Linked DNA regions of Homo sapiens: all the other regions are linked to region 3. The links are contacts of gene promoters, found by promoter capture Hi-C in blood cells and fetal thymus (Javierre and others, 2016). All regions are on one chromosome and are shown on one strand. Each heading gives the region's core, a stretch centred on a gene start or on the middle of the fragment in contact. The rest is flanking DNA. Distances are from core to core; before and after follow the strand shown. Region 1 overlaps TPH1 (tryptophan hydroxylase 1). Region 2 overlaps IGSF22 (immunoglobulin superfamily member 22). Region 3 holds the start of LDHA (lactate dehydrogenase A). Region 4 has its middle 29 kb from the start of TPH1. Region 5 overlaps SERGEF (secretion regulating guanine nucleotide exchange factor). Region 6 overlaps PTPN5 (protein tyrosine phosphatase non-receptor type 5). Region 7 overlaps PTPN5 (protein tyrosine phosphatase non-receptor type 5).

Evidence for each region. Contacts are between HindIII fragments. The CHiCAGO score rates a contact against its expected background, and 5 or more counts as called.
Region 1: a contact is called between a fragment that was not itself captured here and the fragment with the promoter of LDHA in region 3, in 1 of 17 cell types (non-activated CD4 T cells). The highest score is 5.0, in non-activated CD4 T cells.
Region 2: a contact is called between a fragment that was not itself captured here and the fragment with the promoter of LDHA in region 3, in 10 of 17 cell types (non-activated CD4 T cells, activated CD4 T cells, total CD8 T cells and 7 more). The highest score is 10.2, in non-activated CD4 T cells.
Region 4: a fragment that was not itself captured here is called in contact with the fragment with the promoter of LDHA in region 3 in 1 of 17 cell types (naive B cells); the score reaches 6.0 in naive B cells.
Region 5: a contact is called between a fragment that was not itself captured here and the fragment with the promoter of LDHA in region 3, in 1 of 17 cell types (naive B cells). The highest score is 5.5, in naive B cells.
Region 6: a contact is called between a fragment that was not itself captured here and the fragment with the promoter of LDHA in region 3, in 1 of 17 cell types (activated CD4 T cells). The highest score is 5.6, in activated CD4 T cells.
Region 7: a contact is called between a fragment that was not itself captured here and the fragment with the promoter of LDHA in region 3, in 1 of 17 cell types (naive CD4 T cells). The highest score is 6.3, in naive CD4 T cells.

What each region holds. Positions count from the first base shown.
Region 1 is chr11:18,015,388-18,018,478 of GRCh38, forward strand. TPH1 (tryptophan hydroxylase 1) reads right to left here. Exons shown (of 11, transcript NM_004179.3): 11 at 2,168-3,091. Among named protein-coding and RNA genes, the nearest start is that of SERGEF, 3.9 kb to the left of the region's middle. The HindIII fragment of the contact is 3,043 bases long and covers 1-2,815 here.
Region 2 is chr11:18,720,626-18,723,933 of GRCh38, forward strand. IGSF22 (immunoglobulin superfamily member 22) reads right to left here. Exons shown (of 23, transcript NM_173588.4): 3 at 1,285-1,416; 4 at 910-1,046. The region is part of intron 2 of IGSF22-AS1 (IGSF22 antisense RNA 1); the gene reads left to right. Among named protein-coding and RNA genes, the nearest start is that of IGSF22, 3.9 kb to the right of the region's middle. RefSeq lists an enhancer at 1,006-1,195. The HindIII fragment of the contact is 4,044 bases long and covers 1-3,308 here.
Region 3 is chr11:18,392,763-18,396,006 of GRCh38, forward strand. It overlaps LDHA (lactate dehydrogenase A), which reads left to right and starts at 1,801. Exons shown (of 8, transcript NM_005566.4): 1 at 1,801-1,874. RefSeq lists enhancers at 1,096-1,760, 1,407-1,496, 1,761-2,426, 1,807-1,896, 3,161-3,244 and a silencer at 2,657-2,706. The HindIII fragment of the contact is 13,104 bases long and covers 1-3,244 here.
Region 4 is chr11:18,073,759-18,077,226 of GRCh38, forward strand. No RefSeq gene overlaps it. Among named protein-coding and RNA genes, the nearest start is that of TPH1, 29 kb to the left of the region's middle. The HindIII fragment of the contact is 253 bases long and covers 2,017-2,269 here.
Region 5 is chr11:17,987,036-17,990,478 of GRCh38, forward strand. It overlaps SERGEF (secretion regulating guanine nucleotide exchange factor), which reads right to left. Exons shown (of 11, transcript NM_012139.4): 8 at 1,562-1,720. Among named protein-coding and RNA genes, the nearest start is that of SERGEF, 24 kb to the right of the region's middle. The HindIII fragment of the contact is 673 bases long and covers 1,459-2,131 here.
Region 6 is chr11:18,737,353-18,740,525 of GRCh38, forward strand. It overlaps PTPN5 (protein tyrosine phosphatase non-receptor type 5), which reads right to left. Exons shown (of 15, transcript NM_006906.2): 9 at 528-612. It overlaps IGSF22-AS1 (IGSF22 antisense RNA 1), which reads left to right. Exons shown (of 3, transcript NR_186353.1): 3 at 3,072-3,173. Among named protein-coding and RNA genes, the nearest start is that of IGSF22, 13 kb to the left of the region's middle. The HindIII fragment of the contact is 8,092 bases long and covers 1-3,173 here.
Region 7 is chr11:18,764,200-18,767,607 of GRCh38, forward strand. It overlaps PTPN5 (protein tyrosine phosphatase non-receptor type 5), which reads right to left. Exons shown (of 15, transcript NM_006906.2): 3 at 1,608-1,684. Among named protein-coding and RNA genes, the nearest start is that of PTPN5, 26 kb to the right of the region's middle. The HindIII fragment of the contact is 5,910 bases long and covers 1-3,408 here.

The DNA of each region.
Region 1 (3,091 bases), core at 44-2,543, 380 kb before region 3:
GATTTCATCCAGAAGGGCAAGGAAGAACTACCTACAGAGCCAGTTTTAATAGAGAGAAGGTCTGGGAGAATATAGTTGTTTTCTGACTCCACCCCTTGAATGTACAAGCATCAATATTTTAACTAACCTACAGTTATATTATCATGTCATATCCCTTAATACAATTTATTGGAAGTGTTGAGATGTTGCAACTATTTCAACTATGTACTCGCCACTGCCTAGTTCTTCCCATGAGCAGCCTGGCTGAATTGCAGTTCTTGAATGGGACTAGATTTAAACCATCTAATGGCTTCACTTTCAGATGGCTTATCTCCCCAAAAGAGGAAAGTATAAAGTATTTGAGAACATACAGATTGCATCTCTGTACCATGAAGGTTAGGAAATTTTTTCCCGTTGGATTATTTTTTGTGATCATCCCAATAATACTAGTATGATAAGTGCTGTTAGGATTATTATTTTATCTTATTTTGTTTTTTTGAGGCAGGGTCTCCCTCTGTTGCCCAGGCTGGAGTGCAGGTGGCATGATAATGGCTCACTGCAGCCTCTACCTCCTGGGCTCAAGTGATCCTCCTGCCTCAGCCTCCCAAGTAGCTAGGGCTACAGGTGTGAGCCACCTTGCCTGGCCAGGATCATTGTTTTATAGATGAGAAAACTGAGGCTCAAAGTAGTTATTTACTTCAAGGTCAGTTTTCTACTTTTGATAAAGGAAGATTAGCTAGCTGCATACCTATTCTCTCATAAAAAAACAACTAGAAAATTTGACAAAATATTTTTAAAATATATTTCAAGTTATTGGAGAGCTATCAAAGCAGGAAGAACTTGAAGGGCCAAGATCTGGAAGCTGAGAGATTATATTTGGCACTACTTTTCTGCTTGAAGCACTTGCTAATTACTAAGCAATGTCTTGGAGGCTAAGAAACTGGGCTGAAATCAACAACTAAGAAGCTGAGCAGTACCTTTAGCAATCTCATAGGGTAGGGATGGGAGGAGGGAATGGTGGACATGAAGGAGGGGACAAAAGTAGTAGTCCAGAGCCCCCAAGGAGAAGCCCTGGTACACACTCATAGTTTTCTCTTGAGATCCCTAAAGGGCTACACCCTAAAAGTCAAGGTGAACTGGAAATAGACCAGCCCTCACAAAGACTGAAGCTCAACTTCTCTTTGGCTCAATCCCTAATTGGACTCAGACTTTACCATGCCATTATATACTGCCTACTAGAAGCAAAAATTAATACCCTCTTGTGGAAGATAAAATCATCTAGAAGCTAAGGGGGAATATCTGTTAAGAGAGTGATTGTATTAGTAATTCTTTACATGTGGAAAATGAGTTTTTTTTTTTTACAAAGTCCTCTTGCAGCATAACTTCTCCAATAATCTAGTGTAGTAGACTTAGTTCATTTTACAGATGAGGAGTGTAAACCAAAAATAAAATTCTAAGGCCCCCCCCAACCATCTGAATGGACTTTCTTCTAGGCCAGGGCACTCTAAAATGTAACCCGAAACACTGATTCAGGCCATGACTGGAAGTGGGGTCACGCACATGCCTCCTTATACCTCTCCAGCATTAACATCAACACAGACCTTAAGTCTGATAAGAAAAATTGACAGTCTGTTCTCTTGGAAGCCTGCCATCTGGAGGCTTCATCTGCATGATAAAACTCTGGTCTCCACAAACTCATACAGCAACCCAGACATTCCTTTCTATGAATTGCCAATTAGAAAAATTTTAAAACTACCTATAATCTGGAAACCTCCCACCCAACACTTTGAATTATCCCAGCTTTCTGGACTGAGCCAGTGTATCTTATAAATGTATTTGACTGAAGTCTCATGTCTCCCTAAAATGTATAAAACCAAGCTGTACCCTGACTACCTTGGGCACATGTTCTCAGGGTCTCCTAAGGGCTGTGTCATGGGCCATGGTCACTCATATTTGGCTCTTCAAATACTTTACTGTGTTTGACTCTTTTCGTTGACAGGAACATAACACAGACTTTACGAAGAACTCTGAAAAGTGGTTACCAGGTTCCAGATATGTTTGGCTTCTATCTCATATCCATAGGCTTTTTAAGAAGTATAAAGATACAATGGATTTCCTAAACTAATAAAATTGCTAATGTAACTTTAAATAAATTTTTAACGTATGTTTGAAAAAAAGTAAACATTGGTTGAGAACATAAATTTTGTGTTCATTTATTATCCCACTGAATAACAAACTTGTAAATCATAAATATATATTACATAGTAAAACAAAGATTAGACCAAAATAGACCATAGTACCTTAAACACTTCCTATGAATTAACATATGGACTCTATCATATGTTCCTTTAGAGAATTCAGGATTTTTTTCTTTTTTGAATTTGGAAGCCAACTTAAAAGCTAACAATAATTATTTACATTTTGGTGTGTCATTACTACTTGTATAACTCCAAATGACAGAATATGTAGATAAAGAAATGTAGGTATTCTGAAGACCAGCTTTTGAGCATCCTTAAGAAGTCATGAAGATATTAACTATGTCTTTGAATAATGATTTACTGATTAAGAATTATTAACCGGCTGGGCATGGTGGCTCATGCTTGTAATCCCAGCACTTTGGGAGGCCGAGGCGGATGGATCACCTGCGGTCAGAAGTTCGAGACCAGCCTGGCCAACATGGCGAAACCCCATCTCTACTAAAAAAACAAAAATTAGCGGGGCATGGTGAAGCACGCCTGCAGTCCCAGGTTGCAGCGAGCTGAAATCACGCAACTGCGCTCCAGCCTGGGCAACAGAGTGAGACTCTGTCTCAAAAAAAAAAAAAAATTATAAACGAAGCTTTTAGTTCAATTCTGTTCTCACATTTGGGTAACTATTTACATATTCCTAGGTGCTTTGAAGACATATATTTAAAATGCATGAAAATTCTAAGACTCTCAGGACTCCTGATTTACCAAATATTACAAATACCCAGAGGTGAGAAGAACTGAAATCCATCATTAAAAATTTCCAATGTTTGGCCGGGTGCAGTGGCTCACGCCTGTAATCCCAGCACTTTGGGAGGCCGAGGTGGGCAGATCACAATGTCAGGAGATTGAAACCATCCTGGCTA
Region 2 (3,308 bases), core at 64-2,563, 330 kb after region 3:
TTACTCCTCTGTACCAGACACTGGGCTGAGCCCCAGAAGGAACAGTGGTGAGTAAGGCTGACTTGATGCCCGTCTGCATGGTGCTTGCAGAAGCCTGCTAGGCTCTCAGAAGCCAAGGCTCTCAGAAAGTGTCTGCTGAATGAATGAGCTTGTGTAAGAGGTGGCCATCAGGGGGACTGGGGCAGCTCGTGTGTGCTGTGGGGGGCTTAGGGTCCAGTGATGATGGGTCTTTGGGAGCAGACTACTTCTGTCTGTGGGGAAAAAAGGAGGCTCTTTGCCTTTCACAACGGGAAATCGGGTCAGGACCCGAGTGATTATAGGATCATAAGTAATTATAGGCCTAGATCTCCCCGTGATCCATCCCTCCCTTTCCTCGAAGGGCCTGGAGCCAGGGGTTACAGCTGGGTAGGCCCAGCTCTCAGAAAGTGATCCAGAAGCTGGTTAGACCTAAGGATGGTCGGTCCTTGGGGAGGGTTCAGCTGAAGAGCCCGGAGCCCCTGACCCTCACCCCTACTCTACGGCGAGTCCCTCCGGCACCTCGCCACCCACAATGGTCCCGCCCTCCATGGCTACGCCCACCGTCTTGGTCCCGCGTTCCTTTTGGCTCACTCGCCTTGTGGACACGCCCCTTCGCTTCCATTGCGTCCCGCCCCGCCACGTTCTGGCTCTGCCCCTGCTCTGCTCTGCCCCGGGGGTACTTTGGGTCCTCTGCTCATTCCGGCAATATCCCGGTTCCTGACTCGGCCTCTCTTATCCTGCCGCGCCTCTCGGGCAATGACAGCTGCTTTTCCCACTGCCCGGCTCTCGGGCCGCCGTTAAGGCTCTCATCGGTGAGAAGACTGGCGGCCCGCCCTGGGGGTCCCTGCCTCTGGCCTTCTCGGTAACTGGACTTGGGCTTGGCCCCCGCACCTTCAGCACGTGTTCCTTGTTAATGCTGTCGTAGAATATCTTGGCGGACTCCTTGATGGGGATGCCGCTCTCCCTCTTCCAGGAGATGTGGGGTTTGGCGTTCCCCTGCACCCGGGCTCGGAACACGGCTTTGTCCCCTGCGATGAGCACAGGACGCGTTTTCGCCTCTTAGCCACCAGGCTAGAGCCTCTGCCACCCTCTGCCGGCTCTCTGCCTCCTCCCAGACACCTGGGCCTGGCCCCGGGCAGGGGAGGAACCCTCGGCCAGGCTCTGCCAGGGTTTAGCATTGGAGGTCGTTGGGGTAGGACGGAGGGTGGGGGCACTCGATTAGAAAGCGAAGCACTGGAGCCCGGTGAGCCACAGGCAGCAACACACCCTCGGGCGCGGTGACCGGTTGAGGCTTCTCCACGAACTCAGGGACGCTGTCGCCCGCAGGGATGTTTGAGCTCCGGGTCACTAAGCTGAAGAACTCCACTATGCTCGAGGACTTCCTCCTCACGACCTCCTCTGTGGGGGCAGGCGAGAGGTCAGAATGGGCTCCAGGTAGAAGCCCAGCTCGCGATGGGAGGACAGAGCTTTCTTGAGAGGACGGTGGAGCATGGGAACAAAGAGCATTTAGGGAAGTGGGAGCAGGACCAGCTACATGGGGAGAAAGCAGGGTGAGTCGATGGGCCATTGTGTTATGGCAAGTTTCAACCACTAGGGGAGGCGAACTCCTTTCCCACACCTCAGTGGTCCATTACCTTTATGGGGCCACAGCCCTGAGTCCTAATTTTTTTTTTTAAAGGAGGCTTCTCTTTTGGAATTTTCTTGGTCTCTTAGGCTTCTCTCCTGGAAGTCCTGGTCCCCCAGTAGCATTAAGAGGGGCTAGGCCTGCTTCTGCCTGGGAGGTCTGCAGCTTGGCTGAGCTCTGCTCTAGATTTTCTCCCTGCCATTCTGTGGGTTCAGCATTCATTGCCTTGGGAGTAGTGATTCTTGAGTGAGGGACAGGACACGACACAGTCCCACTCCAGTGGAGCTATATATGGGAATATCCTTATCTGAAAGCACATCTTCAATGTGGAAATATAATTTTATATTTGGAAAACAAAAAAAACTGTTTTTGCAGTATAAAACTACAGACAATCTTCTTGGCTGGTGAGTTATCAATTCACAACAATTGCTCTGAATCATGGAACACTTTCCTTGAGTCAGGAACTGTGCTAGGCACATATCAGAGATGATTTTATTCCATCTTCACAGCATCCCACTGAAGTAGGTGCCTTTATTATCCCACTAATCTGACAGAGGGGGAAAAGTGTGTTAAGAAGCTCTCATGGCCTGCTTTTAAATACTAACAAGAGGTCTCAAACAGGCAGAGTGCAGTGGACACCTGGCCTGCAGATGTCTTTTATGTGACCTCCACAATGTTTAAACAAAAAAGTAGCCCTACATCTGAAAGAGAAAGATTTCACATAAAAATTCAGATTTCTGGATTCTCAACACTGAACCTGTATTCCCATATGGCAACAGTCAGTGGGAGGTGAATAGTGGCTGCCCCTTTAGATGGGATATACAGTCTCTAGTTTACCCCAGTCTTTTCCCCACATTTATGTTCCCTGCCTGGGCCCTGTTGGTCAGTGGTCTACAGCTTTGGCTGCACATATATAATCCATGGAGAACTTTATAAGAAATACCTGATTGAATGGTCTGGGGTGAGACTCAGGTACTGCCATATTTTTGCCCTCCTCACACCCCCTGCACTAAGGTGACTCTGATGTGCGGCCACAGCAGAGAATCACTGCTGTAAATCACTTGAGTTTGGAACTTCTGGTCTAGACCATAGGCCTTGAGTCCCAGCTGTTCCACTTGCTCTGCCTCACTGGCCAGGAGGTGTTGGTTGGTATAGAGTGTTTATCTGGCCTTGACCTCTGTGCACGGAGGACTTTGAGGGACTCTATCCCTTTGAGGCTTTGAGGGAGGGGCAATGACTGTGAGAAGGGGTATCCAATGTCTTGGCCCCCGGCCATCTTTTAATCTCTTTCCACTAGAGACGTGACTAAAACACTCTGTTCAGCTCTGAGACCATTTCTCAGCTTTCCCTTGGATCTGCCCTCTTCCAAGTCTGGCCCCAGAGGGCTAAAAGCCTGGAAGGTAAGGTCACCTTCTTGTTTATGTGTTCACCTTCTTTCTCCACTGGTAGCCCCAAGTCTCCTATTTCTTAAGTGGAGCAGGGTCAGCATTACTGATATGTAGATAAGGTGGCTACCTTCCTAATTTCCCCTATGCCTGAAATTCTACCTTTGGAGATAGAATCTGTTCACCTATGGCTCTGATCTCCTTCAGCAATTAAGAGTTTATCAATCATTCACACACATCCACATGATTGATCTTTTCTAAGCTGTTTTCCTGGAGATCTG
Region 3 (3,244 bases), core at 551-3,050:
CTAGAGTGATCTTAGAATCTAGAGTGATGGGAAAACTGTTAGAACATGCAAGCATGCCCTGCTATTTTTTTTTTTTTTTTGAGACAGGGTCTCACTATGCTGCCCAGGCTAGTCTCGAACTCCTGGCCTCAAGCAGTCCTCCCACCTCAACCACATTGGTGCTGGGATTACAGGCATGAGTCACTGCACCTGGCCCCTTGTGCTATTTTGGAGCTGAGGTTAGAGTTTTCCGTCAAAACCAAGAAACTCAGTTATGGATCTATCTCAAAGCTGCACTGGGCTGCTGCTGTAGGTTCAGGGAGTAAGTAAAGCCATCCACCCCTTTGGGCTGAAAGTTCCAGCCCTCTAATTCCCTAATCATTTGGTCTTTCCCATGACTGGCTCCTTCCTGAGGCTATCTAAGACTCCTCATTCATTAACATTAAGTCAGGGAAAAAGGCTCTTTATAAATAACAAAAGACATTCCTATCAGAAAATTCAGGAAATTTTGGCATACTCAAGGGCTTACCAAATATATTTCATAATATACCCCACAGTGGGGAAGTATTGGTACAAATTAAAGAAGAGATGGAGGAGGGCGGGCTAGGCAATGGAATCAGCAAGAATACAGGCCCAGAGGTAAGTATGATAAGAAAACAAAAAATTGAGCTGGGCACGGTGGCTCACGCCTGTAATCCCAGCTCTTTGTGAGGCCGAGGCGGCCAGATCACTTGAGGCCAGGAGTTTGAGATCAGCCTGACCAACATGGTGAAACCCCGTCTCTACTAAAAATTACAAAAATTAGCCGGGCGTGGTGGCGCCTGGCTGTAATCCCATCTTCTCAGGAGGCTGAGGCAGGAGATTCGCTTGAACCCGGGAGGCGGAGGTTGCAGTGAGCCGAGATCAGCCCACTGCACTCCAGCCTGGGCGACAGAGCGACTCCGTTTCAAAAAAAAAAAAATTAATAATTAAAAAAAAAATCGCAGGGCAAGTGGGCGCGCTTGTAGTCCCAGTCACTTCGGGGAGCCGAGGTGGGAGGATCGCTTGAGCCAGAAGGTCGAGGCTGCAGGAAGCCATGATCACGCCACTGCCCTCCAGCCTGGGTGACAGAGTGAGACCCTGTCTCGAAAAATACCAAAAAACAAATAAACAAACAAAAAACCAAAACCAAAAAAACAAGCCACTGACAGTTCTTGGGTATGGTTGAGACTCGAGATGAGATGCCAGTGGGGTGGGCAGTAGAAAGTGCAGAATAAAATGTACATTTGAACTGAGTCACCCTGCAAGGCCTGAGAGGCCAAGGCTTCACTGTGAGTGGGAGCTGGTAGGCTTAGCAGCAGAGGGAAAAGCAGCGTCGAGTTTTGGAGGTCACTCGACTTAGGTAAGAACAGACTGACTGACTGCTAGGCATTTTCTTCCTTTCGTTCAACAAATATTTGTGGAGTGCCTATTACGTGCCAGAAGCTGTTCTGGACACTGAGAAACAGGGATGAAGAAGAAACAGATCCAAGCCTTCCTGAGAGTAACCTCCCCAGGTTTCATGGATGAGGAAACTGAAGGTCGTCCTGACTCAGGCTCATGGCTCCGACCCCGGCTTCTGTGGTTGGAGGGCAGCACCTTACTTAGACTCCCAGCGCACGTGGAGCAGTCTGCCGGTCGGTTGTCTGGCTGCGCGCGCCACCCGGGCCTCTCCAGTGCCCCGCCTGGCTCGGCATCCACCCCCAGCCCGACTCACACGTGGGTTCCCGCACGTCCGCCGGCCCCCCCCGCTGACGTCAGCATAGCTGTTCCACTTAAGGCCCCTCCCGCGCCCAGCTCAGAGTGCTGCAGCCGCTGCCGCCGATTCCGGATCTCATTGCCACGCGCCCCCGACGACCGCCCGACGTGCATTCCCGGTACGGTAGGGCCCTGCGCGCACGGCGCCAGAGGGATGGGCGGGTAGAGCCAACTGCCTCTGGTTCTGCTGGCCTCCGCTGCTCGCGAAGGGATTCCTGCTCCCGGGAGGTGTAGGAGCCGCTTTCCAGAAGCACAGCCCAGAGACGTCTGGGCGGCGGCCCACACAACGCATGTGTTCGGAGCTCGCCGCGCTCTGCTTTTGCTCTAAGCGGGAACCATGGCTTCTGGCCACGCTGGGGAACCGAGGAGGTGGCCGCACCCAAGCAGGGGTCGAAAGCCCGGGTGGATGCGGAACAAGGATATGATAGGCCTTAAGGGTGGGGGATACCTCTGGGCTCGAAATCGGCGGGCGGTGCAAAACTCGAGGTCCAGTTCTCGGAGCCCATAGAGCCAAAAAAGCCTCAGCTTGTCCGGGGCGGGTTCTTGAAAGACGGAAAGCGGCTGAGTACCACGCGGCTTGCATTTTTCTCTTGGGACGCTCGAGAGGTGGGCTCCGTGAGGGCAGCTGCTGCCTGCAGATTATAGGGAGCCCTTTGCGCATTTATTAAGAAGCTACTGGTGTATCTCGGGCTGCGCTAGGCACGGCGCATGCAAAGATGAAGCAGGCAGCATCCCAGCCCTTCCGCACCTCAGACGGTCAGTTGAGTAGGATCCGCCGGTACCAACTCCTCCTTTTAACAAATAGGGAGACCGAAAGCTAGGAGACAGTCAGGGATCTCTAAGTTCCCAGTGAGTAGGAGGCAGAGGTGAGGTGTAGAACTCGTTTTTGCATGTCTCTCGCCTCTAGACGCACCCTTCCCTCATCCCATGCCCTCCCACCTCCGCCCCTACATTAAAGGTAGCATTGGATCCCGGGGCCGTTCAGTGAAGCTAGCAGGTGTCCGCAGGAACTCCCTTCCCCCTGCCAGGCTAGAAACCTTACAAGGCTGTCTAGAAATAGCAGTGATTTGTAAGGAGAGACCCGGCTCCAGCTTGGTGACTCTGGGCTGACTGCCTGCCTAGAGGTCCTCTCGGATTTTTGCCCTTTGGAGTGGTGTCAAAACTAGACGTGATACTTTGGGGATGCAGCCTGTGATATTTCCTCCAGCGAATGCAGTGCAGGGTTGGATTAACAAGGTGGAAAGAATTCGAGGGTTCCACCAAGTAGCTATTAACTCTAGGGCTGCAGGCCTCAGGCCTTCTGCAGCTATTTCTACACTCCCTGTACTGAAACTATTTCTTCATACTGGGCCTGACAGGCCTTTGCAACAAGGATCACGGCCGAAGCCACACCGTGCGCCTCCCTCCCGGTTGGTTAACAGGCCCTGGTTTCTAGTATTGCGATTTAAAGTCTGGCGCTGGCTGCGCGCCAGACCTGGGAGGCTGCCAG
Region 4 (3,468 bases), core at 893-3,392, 320 kb before region 3:
TAAAGACGTGTAACAAACTACCCCAAGATTCAATGATTCAAAACAATAATCATTTAACTACTCATCACAGATCTGTAGGTTGGCTGCAACTCAGCTAGGTTAGGCTGGACTCCAGGTTGCAGATTAAAAAAAAAAAATTTTTTTTAGAGGATGCGGTCTTGCTCTGTCACCTATCCTGAAGTGCAGTGACACGACTATAGCTCACTGCAGCCTCAAACTCCTGGGCTTCAGGCAATCCTCCTACCTCAGCTTCCCAAGTAGCTGGAATTACAAGTGTAAGCCACCACACCCAGCACCGGCTGCAGACTGGGTTTAGGTTTGCTCCATGTTTCTCATCCTTCATGGATCAATGGCTACCCAGGGCATGCTCTTCTCACGGTAAATGACAGGAGCACAAGCAAACTGCTAAAAGTACTCTGCTTACATCAGCTCCATTAACATTCTATTGGCCAAAGCAAGTGACTTGGTCAAGCTCAAAGTCAAGGGACAGGGAAGTACACTCCATTCACGGAGAAGCCATGGCAAGGGCACGATACACAGAGGTGAAGAATCGAGAATAATGATCCAGTCTGCTACAGGATGCATGACCTCTATGCAGACCAGCTTCTTCCTCTGTTCTTCTTACACATGACTCTGGAATTCCAGGCCCACTAGGTCAAGATTTTTTCTGCTTTGTCCACAGTATTTCTATTACACAGATTTTGTCTGTTTTGTTTACTGCTGTCTTCCTAGTCCTTAGAATACCTGGTACATAGTGGATGATAAATATGACTGGCTGCCTCCTCCCAAATAGTGCCCTCAGCCTTGTAAGTTACGTGGTCTAGAGTCCTGTGTCCTTGAGCCAACCTGAGTTGTCCAGCTTGGGTTAGGAGTAATTCCCTTATTAAACCATACGCTGTAACCGGGGGAAGAATGTGGGCAGTCCAGCGGCAATTTTGGAGAAAGGAACGTGGATGTGCAGATAGCCTAGCTGTCTCTTCCATGTGATCTATCAAGACCTTCATGCTCCAGTCCATGCCTCCCCACAGTATGCAAGTACAGTATAGTGGCTAAAAGAATATTCATTAGGCTAGGCAGGTCCAGATCCAAGCCCTGGGTCAGCTACTTACTACCTAAATAACTTTCAGCAAGTTATTTTACCACTCTGAATCTTCATTTCTCCATCTATAAAATGGTGACAATTACCTTATGGGATTATTGCAAAATTAAATAATATACCTAAAGACCTTTACAGAGCATCTGACACATAGTAAATCCTCAATAAATGGCGGTCATCTCTAACAGGAAATTAAGTCTGGTGTCTACCACATCCTTCTGTGTCCTGAGGTAAATTTCGTATCACACTCATTTTAATTTCAACTTTAGTTGATTGTGTTGGGTCACACACTTAGCCCAAAGTAGCCAAATCACAGGTGACTCACACTGCTTGATACAAAAAGACTAGTAACTGCGCAAGAATTTCTCTCTCACAAATTTAAAGAAATACCAAGAGAATAAAGTGATTAAGCTGGCAGAACACAACCCCCCAAAAAAGACAGGCTGGTGTGGTCTTGAGAGACCACAGACAAGCTGAAGTCCTAAGAAAGAAGAAACGGAAATAAGGAAGCCAGGTGACACAGGGACTCAGAGCAGACCCTGATGCCACCTCCTTGGGTACAGATCCTCTCCCCTCCAGGTCTAATTTCAGTGTGGCATGACCCTCTCCCAGAATTGTGATCCTTGCCAGAGCCCTGAGGCATGAACAATTAGGATAAAATGAGAATGCCCTACTCCATGATGTTACTACACTATAGAATCTTGCAAACGTCCAGGGAAAACACAGTTGTTCAGAAAGGGCAATCACATGGGCACAATCATAATGATAGAAGGAGTAGCCTGATATTACGAAATCCTTGGCTGTGAAATGTGAACTTATGGAGGTTTTCTGGCTTTTATATTACAGATGTTCCTTGGGTTGTATAAAATTGGATTTAAGCAAATGTGACCTCATGCAAATTATCTAAGATACATCATAAAAGCTTAGCGATGCAGATTTTGCATTCTATATAGAAATACAAAGCAGTCAGGTTGATGAACAAATAGTATGAGAGGTGAGTGGAGGGCTAGCAGCACCACCACAAGGTTCCCTCCTGCTTCCAGTCTCACCTGTGGTTTTTTTTTTGGTTGCTGGACTGGCCCACAAGACTCAAGACTACATTGGCCCAGGCTCTTGTAAGTTTGACTAGCCCAATGACATAAAAGGAATAAGCATCATTCATAATCAAATTAAAGCTTAAGTTGTGTATCATTTATTTGCTTTTATAAACCTTTAACAGGAAGGCCAGGTGTGGTGACCTGCAAGCCCAGCACTTTGGGAGGCTGAGGCAGGATTGTTTGCAGCCAGGAGTTCAAGACAAGCCTGGGAAACAGTGAGAACCCATCTCTACAAAATCAATAAATAGGCCAGGTGTGGTGGCTCACGCCTGTAATCCCAGCCCACTGAGAGGCCAAGACAGGCGGATCACCTGAGGTCAGGAGTTTCAGACCAGCCTGGCCAATATGGTAAAACCCTGTCTACTAAAAATATAAAAATTAGCTAGGCTAGGCATGGTGGCTCACGCCTGTAATCCTAGCACTTTGGGAGGCAGAGGTGGGCGGATCACAAGGTCAGGAGTTTGAGACAAGTTTGACCAACATGGTGAAACCACGTTTCTACTAAAAATACAGAAATCAGCCGGGCATGGTGGCATGCGCTTGTAATCCCAGCTACTCAGGAAGCTGAGGCAGGAGAATCGCTTGAACCCGGGAGGTGAAGGTTGCAGTGAGCCGCGATTGCGCCACTGCACTCCAGCCTAGGTGACAGAGCAAGACTCCGTCTCAAAAAAAAAAAAAAAAAAGAAAGAAAGAAAGAAAGAAAGAAAACCCACAAAATTAGCCAGGTGTGGTGGTGCGTGCCTGTAATCCCAGCTACTCAGGAGGCTGAAGCAGGAGAATCGCTTGAACCTGGGAGGCGGAGGTTGCAGTGAGCCAGGATCACACCACTGCAATCCAGCCTGGGCAACAGAGTGAGACTCTGTCTCAAAATAAAATAAAAATGAATAAATAAATAAAAATTAGCTGGGCATGGTGGCATGCACCCATAGTCCCAGCTATTTGGGAGACTGAGATAGAAGGATGGCTTTAGCCCAGGAGTTTGAGGCTGCAGTAACCTATGAGTGTGCCACTACACTCTGGCCTGGGCAACAGAGCAAGACCTTGTCTCTGAAAAAAAAAAAAAAAAAAGTATAATGGAACCCCATGTAATTGTCACCCAGCTTCAGCAACTCCAATTCGCAGCCAGTCTTGTTTCATCTACTCCATTAACTTACTTCTTTCCCTCTGCCCCAGACTAATTTGAAGCAAATCCAAGACATCATACTATTTCACTATAAATATATAACTTTTAATAATGGTTCTTGGATCTCAAACCAGCAACAAAAAGAAAACATA
Region 5 (3,443 bases), core at 545-3,044, 410 kb before region 3:
ACATATTCTAGTGGGAAGATATGGCCTATGTCTTTTCTCCTCCATTTCCCCAAGGCTTAACACATTGCTCAATAGGTGCCTAATAAACATTAACCTATTTGGTTGGACACCAGAATCCAAAGAGACAAAGAAGCTTTCTGTTCATGAACATCTAAGTCCCAGGAAAGAGGTCAGAAATCCTAGCTATCTACCCTGCCTTGTATGCATTTGTGTATGTGTAGTCTCTTTTAACTATAAAGAGTTTGATGCAGGAAAATGAGTAAATTCTTTGATAGGCATTGGAGATACAGAAGTGAGCAAGACTAATCTGGTGGCTTCCTTCACAGAGCTCATTATCTGAAACAAAAGAGAGATATCAACAATTACAAACATACAAAACCCAGCTACTATGCTCAGTGAGTCTCTTTAGGAAAAGGTTCTGTAGATAAGCCCAATCTTCAAGCAATCTGAATCTCTTTGAGGAAAGTGACGACCTTCCTCCTAATGAATGACACACTTTGCTTAGAGCATCCTCTAAAGCGGTAATATGGAAAGTTTATTATACACCTTTGTTATACAGGCCTCTATTGCAAAATGATCATGAAATGTTTTAAAAGACCAATTAAAAGCATCATAGGTATGACTGCTCATAAGTCTACATTTGTGTATAGAAATGCGTAGTATATGTGACTTACCAAGGATAGCTGAAGCTGACCTGAAAACCTGCAAAAGCCAGAAACTTCTGAAATAAGAGTCACTAGATATTTGGGAGTCTAGAGATGTGTGTGTAGCTAGCAAGCAGGACAGGAGTAGGCAAGGGAACTCCTGAGAACCCCTGAAGCTCAGAATACTTTGACATGATAACAGATCTTGGGAATTTCAAATTGGCTGGGGAACTCTGTGAAATCAACAGGCAGGAAGGCAGGGATGAATAGAGGCCATGAAAAAACAAAATCTGAGGACAAAGTTAACAATATGAAGGCCAGGAAAGTAGAACTGCCCTAAGGGAAAGATGAGAAATAAACGAAGATTCAAGAAAAGATGAAGATGCCAAAAGCTGTATGGCATGATGTGGTAACATCTGAGGGAATATATGAGATGTCTGAACCAATACACATAGTTTATTAGGTCAACAAAAGTTTAAATCAGAATTCCATGCCAGCTATGAATCAAAATAATGTTCCTACCTCAATCTTTAGATATTTATCTTTCACTTAACATTTTCTGATGCTTTTAATTTAGACTTAGACATGCAAATAGCTATGACAAAGTAAGAACTTCCCAACAAGCTGGACAAATTTCTGGATGACGCTTGCTGCAATGGATCCCTTCTCAAAACCTCATGGGCTCTTAGGACCGGAAGGAGTTAACTTAACCCAGGCTTGCCCTTTTGGGTACAAACCTGTGACTCTGAGAGGAAAAGCCACATATCTGGCTGGTGGCAGAACTAGATCCCAGTATCCCCATCTCTGATCTTTAAGCTTTCATCAGTAAAAAGGCTTAACCCCAAGCACTCATGGCTGCTTAGACAGCTGTCCCCCAGCTGCTCTTACCAACCGTAAGTTCTCTGCTACTGTCTCACCTGTCTGAGCAACCAGGTGTGTCCATCCACTCCAGATGGCAGTGACCTTTTCATTCTGGAAACAATGTGCTTCTATTTTCTGGGGCACAGGAAGGAAAGCAGCCTCATTAGCCAGTTGCCCATGCTTGTTGCTTCCCCAAACATACACCTCTCCTGCATCTTAAACAAACAGAAGGGTAACAAAAGAGGTGAGGGAACATTAGTCCAAAATGATGGAAAATAACAGAAGTCTAAAAAATAAGTGGTTAAAAGAAGTTGTTTTATACTTAGACTACAAGGTTGAGTGGAGCCAAGCAGGTTACAAAATTTGTGTACACCATAATAACTTATTACAAGATTTTCAAAAATTCTATACATAAAAAACAAGGCCAAATGTTCTTAGTAGCTTAAGAAATAAAAATGTGTGGTTTTCTCTTCACTTTTTCATTCAACAAATATTTATGCAACATCTACCATGTGTATGAGACACATTTCTCTATTTTCTACGTTTTTAAAATATATGCCTATACCTTTTGTATGAAAAAAATGCTTTAAATTTTCAAAATAACAGGTTAAAAGATACATTATTTAAGCTTAAATTTTTTAAACATAAGATTATTTCACTGCATGCCCTGTCCAGCAGAAAATATAATGCTATAGAATCGCATCTGGATAGCACTTCAGTTTGTTTTAACCTCACAATAATCCTGTGATATAAGCAGGAAAGTGACTGACTGACATTGTGATTTAACAGAAAGAGAACAAATTCAGAGTCAAGTGACTCTGGCTTCTATTCCTGGATCTGCTAACTAGCTATTGACCTTGGACAAATCACTTCCTCTCTAAGACTTAGTTTCACCAGCTGAAAATTGGAAGGGAAGGCTGTTGGTCTAGAAGGGCAGACAATATGACTGATGACACTGGTAACAAGAATGACTGGCAGGTGACTGTGGCAAGCCAGAGAGTACGTGCCTATCTAAAAGGCATTCACATTCAAAAATATTTTGTAAATGAAAGCCATACAAAATGAGGCCATGGGCAATAATTTAGCCTATGGCTTGTCAATTTGTGACTCCTCAGCTTTTCCAACCCTTATAATCTAAGGATCTACAGCTGTACTACCCAATACAGTAGTTCACCACCTACATGTGGCTATTAAACACTTGAAATGTGGCTAGCCCAAACTGAGATACATTGTAAGTGAAATGCTACTCTCTCACACAATGGACTGCAAAGACTTAGTGCAAAAAAGAGTGTGGCTCCTTATAATTTGATATGGGTTACATGTTGAAATAATATTTTGGATATACTGGGTTAAGTAGATATATTATTAAAATTAATCCCACCTGTTTCTTTTTACTTTTTGAACTATGGCTCATATTATATTTCTATTAGCACTGTTCTAGAAGATAAATTAATCAAGGCTGGAAGATATTAAATTACTTTTCAGGATCACATGGCTAATAAGGAGTCAAATAGGGACTAGAAGCCAGGTCTTCTGCTTTCACTGCATTTTGTAGCTTCCCAATAAAACTTGATAGTATTGCTTGCCCTAGGGCAGTCTAGTATATTCCAAAAAACTGACAGAAAGTCAAACAGTATCATTAAGGGGCTTCAGACTAAGGTTCAGAAGTCTCCAGTTCAAGTTCCATCTGTTACCCGATCACTGTTTGACACTGGGCACATCACTTCACATTCTAGGTCTGTTTCCTCAACTCCAAAATGAGGGAGTATAAATCAGTGAAACCTTTTTGTCACTGGGGTGACCCTGCAACATTGACATTCTGCAGTTCTATGAAGTGAATTTGGTGTATTCCATTCCCAGAGAGAGGTCAACCTCCTGGACTTCATCAGGGTGTGCAAAGTATGAAGATCTCTTACAAGATAGCAAAGAAGCCCCCTC
Region 6 (3,173 bases), core at 663-3,162, 340 kb after region 3:
CAGAGACAACTCATTTGCCTGTGGGAGTGGATGTCCCTGTTAGAGGGCTTACAATTCGACCACACTCCACACAGTGTAGACAGAGAGCCTGACTCTGGGATCACAGAGGCCCAGGTCTGAAATTCAGCTCTGCACTTCCTAGCTGTGGGACTGCAGGTGAGCCACTTAACCTCTCTAAGCCTTAACTTCCTTTCCTTAAAATCTGCCCACTCTGAAAAGAGTTTCGGTTACCACAGTGTGGCTAGGAACTGCTGTCATTACCACCCTTTCTCTTTGGGTTTCTAGAGGGTCCAGCACAACATGTGGCCAGGCAGGGCAAAGGACCAGAGAGTGCTGTGCGAGGAAATGTACTCGCCTCTGGCCTCACCAGGGCAGCGCTTCCCTTCAGCCAGCAACCCCCAGCCCTCTGTCCCACCTCCTCCAGTCCTGTCACCCCTAGAGGCCCAGCTGAGGGTCCTCCTCAGGGTGAGGGGATCCCCAGGTGAAGCTGAGCCTGCCCCCATCCCTCTGGGACAGTGAGTACTCACTGGGAAGTATGGTTTTGTACCGGTTCTTCCGCACCAGCCCAGGGATGTCGTACTCTTTCGGATCCACAAAGTTCATGGGGATTTCCTGTGGAAGGAGGACACGGGGTGTGAGCAGCTATGGGCCCTCACAGATGTTTGAATCCAGGGGCTGCTGTGCCCCCAACTCCTAGCCCAGGGGCTGGCTTGAGTGCACGCATTCATTCAACAAACATTTACTATTAAGAGAGTTAGTGCTCACGACGCATTCAGAACAGTGCCTGGCACATGCTGAGTGTGTAATAAATATGATAATGACTATTGTTTATGGAGAGCCAGCCTGCCATATATAGACAGTCAATAAATAGCTGATGAATGAAGAAAAAGACAAAAAGTGACCTGGCCAATGGCTGCCTTCTTCCATGCTCCCTGGGCAGCATTCCTCCCTGGGCATCCCTATCTCGGGACCTAGGTTCGTGCTGCTTGCTCTGTGGTAACACACACCCCATCCTCATCTCATGTCCCGCCTCCTCTGAGAAGCCTTCCCTGATTCTCCAGAAGGAGAGAAGCCTCTTTCTGAGATCCCAGGAATATCTGCACCTCCCAACCACTGTCTGTGTCCAGAGCTCTGAGTCTGAACTTCTCTCCTGGCATGTGAGGGCTTCTTGAATCTGGCCTCTCTTTACTTCCAGTTAGGCCTGTTTCTCCCCTGTTGTTAATCTGCTGTTCTCAGTCCTGCCTCTGAGTCTGAGCTTGTGACGTTCTGCCTCCTGAGGGCGCTGGTCTCCCCTACCCCCATCTCTCCAAGTTGTTCCCACCCTTTAAAGTTCACCTCTGCCCGGGCGCGGTGGCTCACGCCTGTAATCTCAGCACTTTGGGAGGCCGAGGCAGGCGGATCACAAAGTCAGGAGTTTGAGACCACCCTGGCCAACATGTTGAAACCCCATCTCTAATAAGAATACAAAAATTAGCTGGACCTGGTGGCGGGCCCCTGTAATCCCAGCCACTAGGGAGGCTGAGGCAGGAGAATCGCTTGGAACTGGAAGGCGGAGGTTGCAGTGAGACAAGATCGCACCACTGCACTCCAGCCTGGGCAACAAGAGTGAAACCCTGTCTCAAAAAAAAAAAAAAAAAAAAAGTTCACCTATGAGTCTGTCTCCTCCTGACATCTTCCGGGATGACTCTCCATGCCTCTTGCCTCTGCATTTCCTTCCAGTCTGTCCACCAGCTTAGCCCCTGACTGCACCTAACTTCACACTGTTCATTGTTTTTGGACACACTAAGTATGGGCTTTGTAAAATGAGGATCATCACACTTTCCAGGATTGTGAAAATCAAAATAAAAATACAACACGTGCAAAACTGCCCCCAGAGTGGGTGCTCAGGCCACGCTCCTTCCTCAACAAAGACCCACCGGACAGGAAATGAGGTAGAGGATGTGATTCTTTCTCGAAGGGGAGATGATGGCAGTGGGAGCTCAGAGAAGGAGCTGAGGCTGGGGTGGTTAAAGAAGGCTTTCTAGAGGCATCTGGAGTGAGTGATGATGTGAGCAAAGGCACAGGAGGAGAAAGGCACGGACGAGACTGGCCCAGTTTGAAGTGGACAGTCCCTGCAGGGGTGGGGCATGGGGCATAAGGCTGGAAAAGGAGGCTGGGGCCACACGAGGTAAGGGGTGCTGATGGTGTATGCAGGTGGTACCAAGTTCTGGAGAACTTGGAGCAGCAGATCAGATGATGATGGAGGTCTTCTCACAGGGGAGAGCTACCCGGTCCAGACAGGCCCAGGGCGGAGGCCAAAGGAAGGGAGCTATGAGGGAGGAGGCACCTGCTTCTGTACCCCTGTGGCTTCTACCAGGAGGAACTCACCCCAGATACTCTTGGCCTCTTGCCTTTTCCTGCTCACAGAAGTGAGGAGTTACCTGTTTGGTGAATTTGGTTGAGGAATGGAGCTTTGGAGCCTCAGCCCCTTCCTTCCTCCTCCTCTCAGGGCCCTCCTGCCAGGAAAGAATTATAGGGGTGCCCCCATGCGGCAAGGTCCGAGATGTGCCGGCACCCCTGTGGAGGGTGGAAAGTGCATGTAATTCTGGGTCTCAGTATCGGGAGGCTCACTCTTGCTGTACCCTGCTAAGCCACATTTCCAACCTGTATTTTATTGACAACAAAGGTGATATTGTAATCTCCTATGCCTTAGCTCTTAACTGGCTGAGCACTCAGGCAGGTAAACAGGGGTGCCATTTATTGAGCCCCTCAAAGTCCAATAGGAGGCAGCTGGAGGCTGCTGCAGAAGCCAGGGTGGAGGTGATTAGGACCTAAGCTAGGGCCCCAGGGGTGGTAACGAGGGGAGGCCACTAGAGAGATTTCAAAGGCAGAAGAACAATGCTCGGCAGGAGGAAAGTGGGAAAACAGAAGAGTTAGAAGTGAAGGTTCTCTGTGGCTTTCAGAGCACAGCACTGGGCAATAAAGACTTAGCATTGTCACTGTACCTCCATCACCTGGCTGGGTGCTCTGCACATGTTATAAGTCTCTTTAATCTTTGCAACAATTCTATTATTTTCATCCCCATTTTCCAGATGAGGAAACTGAAGCTCAGAGGGAAAGCAGCTTGCCCAAGATGGTGGGAGAGCTGATAATAAAGTGATACTAATCTACTGCAGATGCTGAGTTCCAGGCAC
Region 7 (3,408 bases), core at 226-2,725, 370 kb after region 3:
TATTGAGTTCTATGACTGGACCACTTTTAGAGTCAGAGAGTTCTGCGTCTATGGGCCAAAGGCCTGTTTTTAATTTCAATGCCTTGGGCTTACGTCATCCTAAGATACACAGAATAGATCTGCTGCCCCTTCCGCAAGACAGCCATTCAGATATTCAGGAAGTTCTCACATCTTTTCAGAGAATTCTCTTCTAGACAGACGGTCCCATCTTAGACCGTCTCAACAGGCTGTCCCAAGTGTTTTGAGCAATGGCACCCCCTACTGGTTAAGGTATGAACTGCATCAAAGGGCTTCCTCAGGAGCTGGGGCACTGAGTGTGGTGTGAATAAAATACCACTTATTTTGAAGAGTCATCGCTTTAGACTCATACCTGGTTGTTTCCAATGTCTATCTTAAAGAGTATCACGTGAAGACTCCATTCTAAGGTTCCTTGCCAATCATGAGGTCTCTGAAAAGCTACAGGTTTGGAATTTCAACGTTAGAGTTCAAAAGACTTGTCTTTGTTTTGTTTTGTTTTGTTTTGTTTTTTTGGAGACGGAGTCTTACTCTGTCGCCCAGGCTGGAGTGCAGTGGCGCGATCTCGGCTCACTGCAAGCTCTGCCCTCTGGGTTCACGCCATCCTCCTGCCTCAGCCTCCCAAGTAGCTGGGACTACAGGCGCCCGCCACCACGCCTGGCTAATTTTTTGTATTTTTAGTAGAGACGGAGTTTCACCATGTTAGCCAGGATGGTCTCGATCTCCTGACCTCGTGATCTGCCCGCCTTGGCCTCCCAAAGTGCTGGGATTACAGGCATGAGCCACCGCACCTGGCCCAAAAGACTTGTCTTCTAACAAAATGTTCAGAAGGAGAGATATGAAAATATATGCTATGTTACAGGATTATGGCGATTTTTCTTTTTTTATTTGTATTTATTTTCTAATATTTTGACAGTTAACCTTTTGTTATAAGAAGGAAAAGAACAATAAAAACTTATAAAAAAATGTAAAACTCTCCCCCCACCCCTTCTTTTTCTTCCTTCTGAGGCTGTTTATCATGGCGTGGGTCATGGGGCTACAACTGGGACGAGCTGCCACCCTGTGGGCAAGAGTGCCTTGGTAATATCTCCACGGTGGCTGCAATGGCTTGGCTCCCTGCAACTGTGGTCAACTGGACTCAAGCAGCACAGTTTCACCCTCAAGCCGGGCTTCTCAACAGGGAGGTCAGGTAGTTCTCCACATCCCCCACCCCATCCTTGGCTCATGCTGCCTTCAGGTTTTGCTTCCTACCCTTACCTCTTGAAGTCAGCCCAGCCCTGAATGGTCAGTGGTCATTCCCTAGGAGCCCTGTACTCCTCAGCTCTTCGTCCTTCTTTTCACTTCCTAGCACACCTTCAATTGCCTGCTCTTCCCTCCATGTGAGCCTAGAGCAGCTCCAAGTGATAACAGGTCAGAAGGCATCAGGGATTAGAAAAACAAGTCCCCATTTAAACGAAGAGCTATGGAGCAGCTGCATGGATATTCTTGCGCAAGTTCACAGCTAGCTAGGCTTTACTCCAGCCCCAGCTTCAGCCGGGGCATTGTCTCTCCATTCTGAGGTCTGGGAGGAGCTGGGTGCTGAGAAGACTCACCCGGTAGCCTCTCACTGCAGCACATGTCCAGGGCCCCTCCCTCGGAGTCATCAGCAGCGTGGTTCTCTCTCTCACTCCTGCAGCAGGATGGAAAAGGTAAGAATATGCTGTTGAGCCAGGATCAAGACAAAAACCCTGAGCAAAGATAAGAAGGCTCCCTCTCCTGTATTCTGTATCCCTTTGAATAACCCCACCCCATCAAAGGGACCTGAGGAAAATACCAGCCTGTTGAGGGGTCAAGCTGCAGAGGCAGGAGCAGAATTTTGCAGGTGTCTTCCTTGTGGAATCAGTGGCAGCAGTATCATCACAACCATCATCATCATCATCACCATCATCATCACCTCTACAGTAGGAGGATTTACTATACGCAAGCACTTTGCAAACTTTATCACATTAAATCCTCACCATGACCTCATGAATGAGGGATCATTAAACAGGCTCAGAGAGGTTAAGTAACTTGCCCAAGGTCACACAGCTCAATAGAATAGAGATGAGTTTGAAATTATGACCTAGGACTCCAGGCTCATGCTCTCGCTGTTGTGCCATTCTGTCTCCTAGTTCCAGTAGTTTTGAACCATGGGTGGACAAGAAGAGGGCTCTGAGTAACCCACAATCCTGTGTCCAGCTCTCCAAGATATGCAAGTCCCCTCTGCCCCAGGCAGTGAAAAGTGGTATGCAGAACTCTTCTCCAGAATAGCTAGAAAAAGTAGTTACATACATGTTTTGTATAGTCTAAATGTTTCCTTCCTGAAATCAGAGAACCCTCTTTCTAGCCTATTAGGGCACCTTATAGGAGAGTATGGGGGTCTAGTTTTTCTCCTTTACCTGGCAAGCTGGAAAAATGTTGCTGGAGATCAGCTAGACCCCATGAAGCATCTTGAGAGTAGACATATCTTGAGGGCAACCACTTGACTCACAGGGGGTCCCCTACCCTGGGAATGGCCTGAAATGCAGCGTGGGCTCCAGTGGCCTTGTCTGCCTTTCATGTCTCTGACCCTTGGCAGTAGCTGATGACTGATCCAAGGCTGAACACACAAACCAGCCTGGGTCAATCAGATCCTCTCCCTTGCACACTGAAAATGCATTCTGATGCATTTTGCTGGTGCTGAATCATGGTAGCCACAGTGCCCTGGAGAGAAGACCTGCTGCTGAGGGCCTGAGAGCTGCCTTGTTCCCATCTGTACTGAGTCTTGGACAATATGCCCTTCAAGACCATAAGATGGCCGTGGATCCTTCCAATAAATCCCCACATTTTAGCTTACGCCAGTGGGATGTGATTTCTGAAACTGGCAACCAAAAGAACCTTTGACATAGCCTTGCTAGCATACTTTCAGGAATTCCAGAGGCTCAGCTGCTTCTCTGCCCCCAAGTCCTGCTATCCTGCTTCTTGGACTGGCCCTAGGGCCAGTTTCAGGCCCAATTCCAGATTTTAAATAATTAAGGGCAGAGAGGTCAGGTTCAGGGTGGCCCTTCTCCCTCTGATATCTTCTTTTTCAACTGGCATTATATCATTTTATTTTTTTCCTCAACCCAATTGCCAGGGTCTCTGAGAATCACAAGTCCTAGAGCCCAGCACTCCTGCAGAGAGGAGGTCACTTCCTTCAAGGTAACTTTAAGTGCATTCTTTAAATGTCTCTGGAGTCCCTCCACATTTCTCCCTCCCCATCTTGGTCCCAGCCACCATCATCTCTTGCCTAGATTGCTGTGGCAATATTTTAACTGGTTGCTGGCATCCACTCGGGCTGGCCTCCAAAACATTCTCCACATGGCTCCAGTGCTTATGGCACAGAAAATCTGTGCA